Regions from separate parts of the Homo sapiens genome. Here region 2 is linked to region 1. The links are contacts of gene promoters, found by promoter capture Hi-C in human tissues and cell types (Jung and others, 2019). All regions are on one chromosome and are shown on one strand. The core of a region is centred on a gene start or on the middle of the fragment in contact, and the rest is flanking DNA. Distances in the headings are between cores, read along the strand shown. Region 1 holds the start of SLC39A12 (solute carrier family 39 member 12). Region 2 overlaps CACNB2 (calcium voltage-gated channel auxiliary subunit beta 2).

What was found. The method cuts DNA at HindIII sites, captures the fragments that hold promoters and counts their contacts. A contact is called where the count stands out against the background at its distance.
Region 2: a contact is called between a fragment that was not itself captured here and the fragment with the promoter of SLC39A12 in region 1, in 2 of the 25 tissues and cell types used here (IMR-90 fibroblasts and lymphoblastoid cells).

The regions. Positions count from the first base shown.
Region 1 is chr10:17,950,597-17,953,296 of GRCh38, forward strand. It overlaps SLC39A12 (solute carrier family 39 member 12), which reads left to right and starts at 1,322. Exons shown (of 13, transcript NM_001145195.2): 1 at 1,322-1,429; 2 at 2,595-2,700. The coding sequence starts at 2,681. The HindIII fragment of the contact is 7,346 bases long and covers 1-2,700 here.
Region 2 is chr10:18,176,862-18,179,561 of GRCh38, forward strand. All of the region lies in intron 2 of CACNB2 (calcium voltage-gated channel auxiliary subunit beta 2), which reads left to right. Among named protein-coding and RNA genes, the nearest start is that of CACNB2, 38 kb to the left of the region's middle. The HindIII fragment of the contact is 7,347 bases long and covers 1-2,700 here.

The DNA.
Region 1 (2,700 bases), core at 72-2,571:
CTCCAAGTCCCCACCAGATTAGCTAGACACAGAGCGCTGATTGGTGCTTTTACAATCCTTTAGCTAGACAGAAAAGTTCTCCAAGTCCCCACCATCCCAGAAGCCCAGCTGGCTTCACCTCTCACTGGCACTAGCCACGGGACTTTGTGGCACCTATCCGGAGCACCTAGCCCGGGCACTCCAGCAGCCTAGAGGGAGCTCGTCCCAGACAATCAAGAGCAAAAGACGGGAAGCAAGAAAGAGATGGAGACCCGCCATCGTGGCCAACGTTCTGGTCCACGCACGGGATTCAGCCTCTGATCAAGCCCCAGTTCCCGCCCACGCCTCTCCCTCCACACCTCCCGGCAAGCAGAGGGAGCCGGCTCCGGCCTCGGCCAGCCCCAGAGAGGGTCCCCCACAGCGCAGCGGCGGGCTGAAGGGCTCCTTGAAGACGGAGAGAGCTGAAGCTGAGGCTGAGGAGGCGCCAAGAGCGAGCCAGGGCTGCTAGCAAGTTGTCATCTCTCATTACTAGCATTCTCTCAGGAATATCCTACCGCAGGGTTCCCGTGTTTCATATACAATTAGTGATGAGGCTAATCATCCTGATCTCAAATTTCCTCTACCTGCCCACCAGCTGACTTAAACCCCTATACTGTGGGCATGCATTCTGCCCACTCTGAAATCTTAGGATTTAACTTCTCTTGCTTCCTAGAAAATGAACCACTTTGTTCCTTTAGTCATTTATTCACTAATAATTTGTTGAGAGGTTTTGTTTTGAGGAGCATGAAGGATCTGATGTAAGAACTACCACCGGTGCTGGTGATCACAATATATGCAGCTGATTAAAGTTCCTCATTTATGCTACCTACATCCCTGGTAAGAATTTCATTCCTTCAACCAATACTTTTCATTTGAAAGCATCTCATTACGAAAGACTTCAATCTTTTAGGCTTCTGCATCTTGCAAAACAAATATGGTTCCAAAGAGCCTATCTTTTCAACAAATCTTTGGTTTGAGCCTGGATGAAACAGTTATTACAGAATCAACTGGAGAGGAAAAAATCTTCATCTAACACTGAAGTCTTTCTATTCTGCGAGGTGAAATCCTTTGACCTAGATTCTGTCCCTTGAAAGGCAAGTGACAGTAGGTGAGCCTAAGAAAATTGGTTAATTCTTGATCTAAAAAGTTAAATTCATGAACCACACTGATTTGATTACCTTGAAAATCTACCAGACAGAAAGTTCTCCCTTTTATCCACCTTCATTGTTACCTTCAGAGCAGCTCTCTCCATAGCAACTGAAAACTTTTCTGGGCTGAAATAATCCTCTCTAGCTCCCAGTGCACAGTCAAAGAATTTTAAAAACAGGGAACTTTGTAACTGTGAAATACTCTCCAGGATTTAAAAGGCTGTGGAGCTCCAGATAAAGAATCGTTTATCTTTCTTCTGAAGGTAAGCACTGGGGTTAGAAATGCTTGCATCATCCTCTGTCACTTTTAAATTGCTAACATAACAACCTTAAAGTGTTGTTGTTGTTTTTAACTCATAAAAGTAATCCCAGTACCTTTGTTACTAGCCCACAGTCATTTACCAGCTCATCTCTGGGCCAGGATCGGACATGAGATGCTGTTAACATTTTACATGCCTTAAGCCATCAACAGAAAGATAATTTTTTTTTCCAGGAAGTTGATTGGCTCTAAAGTCATCCCCCACTCCTTTAGTCACCACTGAGTGAGTGTGTGTGTGTGTGTGTGTCATGTTCTTGAGGTCTCGAAATTCTGTTTTTCTAAGATGCTTCCTGCTCTAGAATCTTGATTCTTAGTAAACTAAAAAAAAGACCTGTGTTTTCTGAACATTACTATTTTCTTCTAGTGCTTTTCCTTGTCTAAAACTCTTTTTTTTTCTTTTTTCTTTTTTCTTTTTTTTTTTTTTGAGATGGAGTCTTGTTCTGTCGCCCAGGCTGGAGTGCAGTGGCACGATCTTGGCTCACTGCAACCCCCGCCTCCCGGGTTCAAGCAATTCTTCTGCCTCAGCCTCCCATGTAACTGGGACTACAGGCACGTGCCACCATACCTGGCTAATTTTTGTATTTTCAGTAGAGACGGGGGTGTCACCATATTGGCCAGGCTGGTCTCAAACTCCTGACCTCGTGATCTGCCTGCTTCAGCCTCCCAAAGTGCTGGGATTACTGGTGTGAGCTACCGCGCCTGGCCTAAAACTTTTAAACTCAACATGATGTTGGTCATTTAGTAGAATTTATTTTCTCTTTTTCATGAGGACCATGAATCACTTGGAGTTCTTTATAATGGGATAAACATAAGGTGTTTCCCAACCTGGGTCCTATAACTTGTACCACCTGTTGGTAAATGGAGAAACTTACGTGACGCTATGTTTAGTTTAGGGAGAGAGAATCTAGCAAGCTTTTTGGCTGCTGTGCAGTTTGAAAGTCTACAGCCATGGTGCTTTCCTGCCATTTGGGGTTAGAAATTACCTACAGACCCCCGCTGTGTAGAAACAGCTTGTCATTGCAAATCAGCTTAGCCACCCAATTAATGAATCCTTTCAAACATGTTGCAGGCACAATAATTGAAGGCTTTATTTTTCCCCTTTACCACAGAAATTCCTTTGGTTACAAGTTTACCCCATAAACGGCAACACACTCACCTCCATCCAAGACAGACTCAAGGTGGAGGAAGCGTGGAAATGTGCTTCCGGACAAAGCT
Region 2 (2,700 bases), core at 150-2,649, 230 kb after region 1:
GGGGACATTGAGAAGGTATGCGGGGAATGAGTGAAGATAAGGAAGAGATGAGTGGGACTTTTGGTTAGGGGTACAGAATTCCAGAACTTGTTAGTGATGGCAGTGAGAAAGCGTATAGAGGTGAGGGAGGGAGGTACCCTCCACATTTTAGGTAGTGACTGAGGGAAAGTGTTGTTTTCACTGTGTAGCCTCAACCCTAAACCCTAAGGCTGGGGTTTAGGTTGCAAAGACATTTAGCAAGGAGAACATACAGAAGCAGAAGTGCCTGTTAGAGTCCTACAGATCACCCATCAAATCATGTGCATATACATGTAGTAAACCAAAAAGTGACTGAAGCAGATCTCAATCCATCAGAAGTGTATTTTACCATAGTTGAAGATGCACCTGAGAAAAACAAACACGTGCCTCAGTAGGATCTGCAACCTATGCTTTATCCACAGAGGGTTTTGGGATGTTCAGTATTTAACCAAGAAAGAGGCTGGGCACAGTGGCTCATGCCTATAATCCCAGCACTTTGGGAGGCCAAAGTGGGTGGATCACTTGAGGTGAGGGGTTTGAGACCAGCCTGGCCAACGTGGTGAAACCCCGTCTCTATTAAAAATGCAAAAAAAAAAAAAAAAATAGCTGGGTGTGGTGGCAGGCACCTGTAATCCCAGCTCTTGAGCTGAGATCACGCCACGGCACTCCAGCCTGGAAGACACAGCAAGACTCCATCTCAAAAAAAAAAAGAAGAAGAAGAAGAAAGAAAGAAAGAGCAAGCATTTGGGGAAGAAAAAGAAAAGGAGGACAGGCAGGCAGTGAGGCAAGCGGCTCCATCTTGGTAGGCTCTGATTAGCACTCAGTGAATCTACATGTTACATGTGCAAAGAAGAGTACAGGAAAAGCCAATTTTGCATTCTTCTCTTGCTTGGTTAATCTACATTTTAACATGTTACATAAGATAAAGTAAGCATGTGGAATTACAGCTATTTGGGAACAAAAAGGAAGGCAGTTTTTGTGTGACTCAGTTTCTAAGCTTAACTTTCCATTTGGCATAGTGAGTTTGGGGTGCCAAGATTCTATTTTCCTTTCACAGTATATACGTAGGTATTCAAGAGGCATATCATATGCATTTTGCAGCTAGACTCCCATCCACTGGCACAGTGACCATCCTGGGAGAAGATACAGGCATGAAGCTGATTGCAGAATAGTGGTGTCTCCTCTCATATCTCGGTTTTGCATTGGGATGCATACTTCCTGAAGTTCTCCTTTTCTTGGCGGTTGCTACTGAGGATATAGAGTTGAATTCGGGTAATGTAGACTGGAGTATGATGCGACTTTATCATTATCTCCTTAAGTCATAAGCCTGTAGGGATTGGGGACTTTACCGTTGAAATGAGCCTTTTCTTTTTCTGTGTTTTAGTGATGTTTGCTGCCAGAGATCTTCAGAGAGATTTAAAAGTCATTTTAAATGGCACTTTTAGCATTAACTCTACCTATTAGGCTTTGTTAGAGCCTAATCTTCTCAGATTCCTTCTCATTCAAGAAATGTTGATTAAATATCTGAATTGTGCATGTATATCATAATTTAAATACATGGTAAATACTGAAAATCATACAGAGATTAATCAGATAGAGGTCCTGTTCTCAAGGATCCAGTTGACCCACAGATTTCTTCTTTTTTGATTCCTTTTATTTTTATTATTTTTTTTAGCTTAGAGAAAGGTCACACAAAGATAGTGATTTGGGAGAAGGTTCTTTTCCCTATTTGCTTGTTTCATTTAGCATGGGTGATAGAAACATCTTTGGGTAAAAGCAAACATCTGGCAAGGGTGCCTCTTAGATGGAAGGTTGAGCAGATATTCGGTGAAATATGAATCAGTGTTCCTGCTTTTGCTACGTTCAATTCTGAAGTTTGTGTTGCCATGGGGATGGAGACTGCCAGGAGAGCTGCCATTAGCAAGTTTGTTTGAAACTCTGTGAACCCTTGAGCCCCAGGGAAGAGAGGTTGGATAGGTCTGGTAATAGACCCCTGGGAGATGCTTGGGCATTTCTGCTGCCAAACCTTGTAGGGACAGGGTGGAGGTTGAGGATAGCTGAAACATAGAGCAGAAGTTGGGTCTATAGAAAGCACTTGAGACTCTTTTTTTAAAGAGGCAGAAACCTTCCAGCAGGTCTGTGCTCTGGGTGAGATATTCACATAAACAAATTAGAATTTTCTAGGCCTTACTGCGGAACAGGCTTTTACCAGTTGAGTAACCACAAACGCTTTTATTGCAATGTAAACTAAACACTATAAAATAAATGTCAATAACTTTAATTTTTTTCTACTTTTTTTAGCAAAAGGAATAACCCTTTAGCAGAAGACTAGTAAACATATATGAGGAAGTCTGGACAGAAAAAGAAAGGGTTTATAAATAGCAGACATAGCAGCCCTTGCTATCTGAGAAATTGTTGTAGGGAGGTGATAGCTTTCCTAAGACCACTAATAAAGGTCTTCCGTGCCTCTGGGTAAAAGGGACAGTGAGTCAGTTACCCTGCTCTTGTTCCTGTTTTTCTCCCTGCATCCCACCCCAACCATTATGTTCTTTCCATTTAGTCTGTAACTTACCTGGTCATTGCTGAATAAAACTTTGATTTTTGTGGTCAGGTTCAGTTTTTTGGAACCAAATGATTCTGAAAGTGCTATAGTAATACATGCATGTTTATCTTTTCATTAAA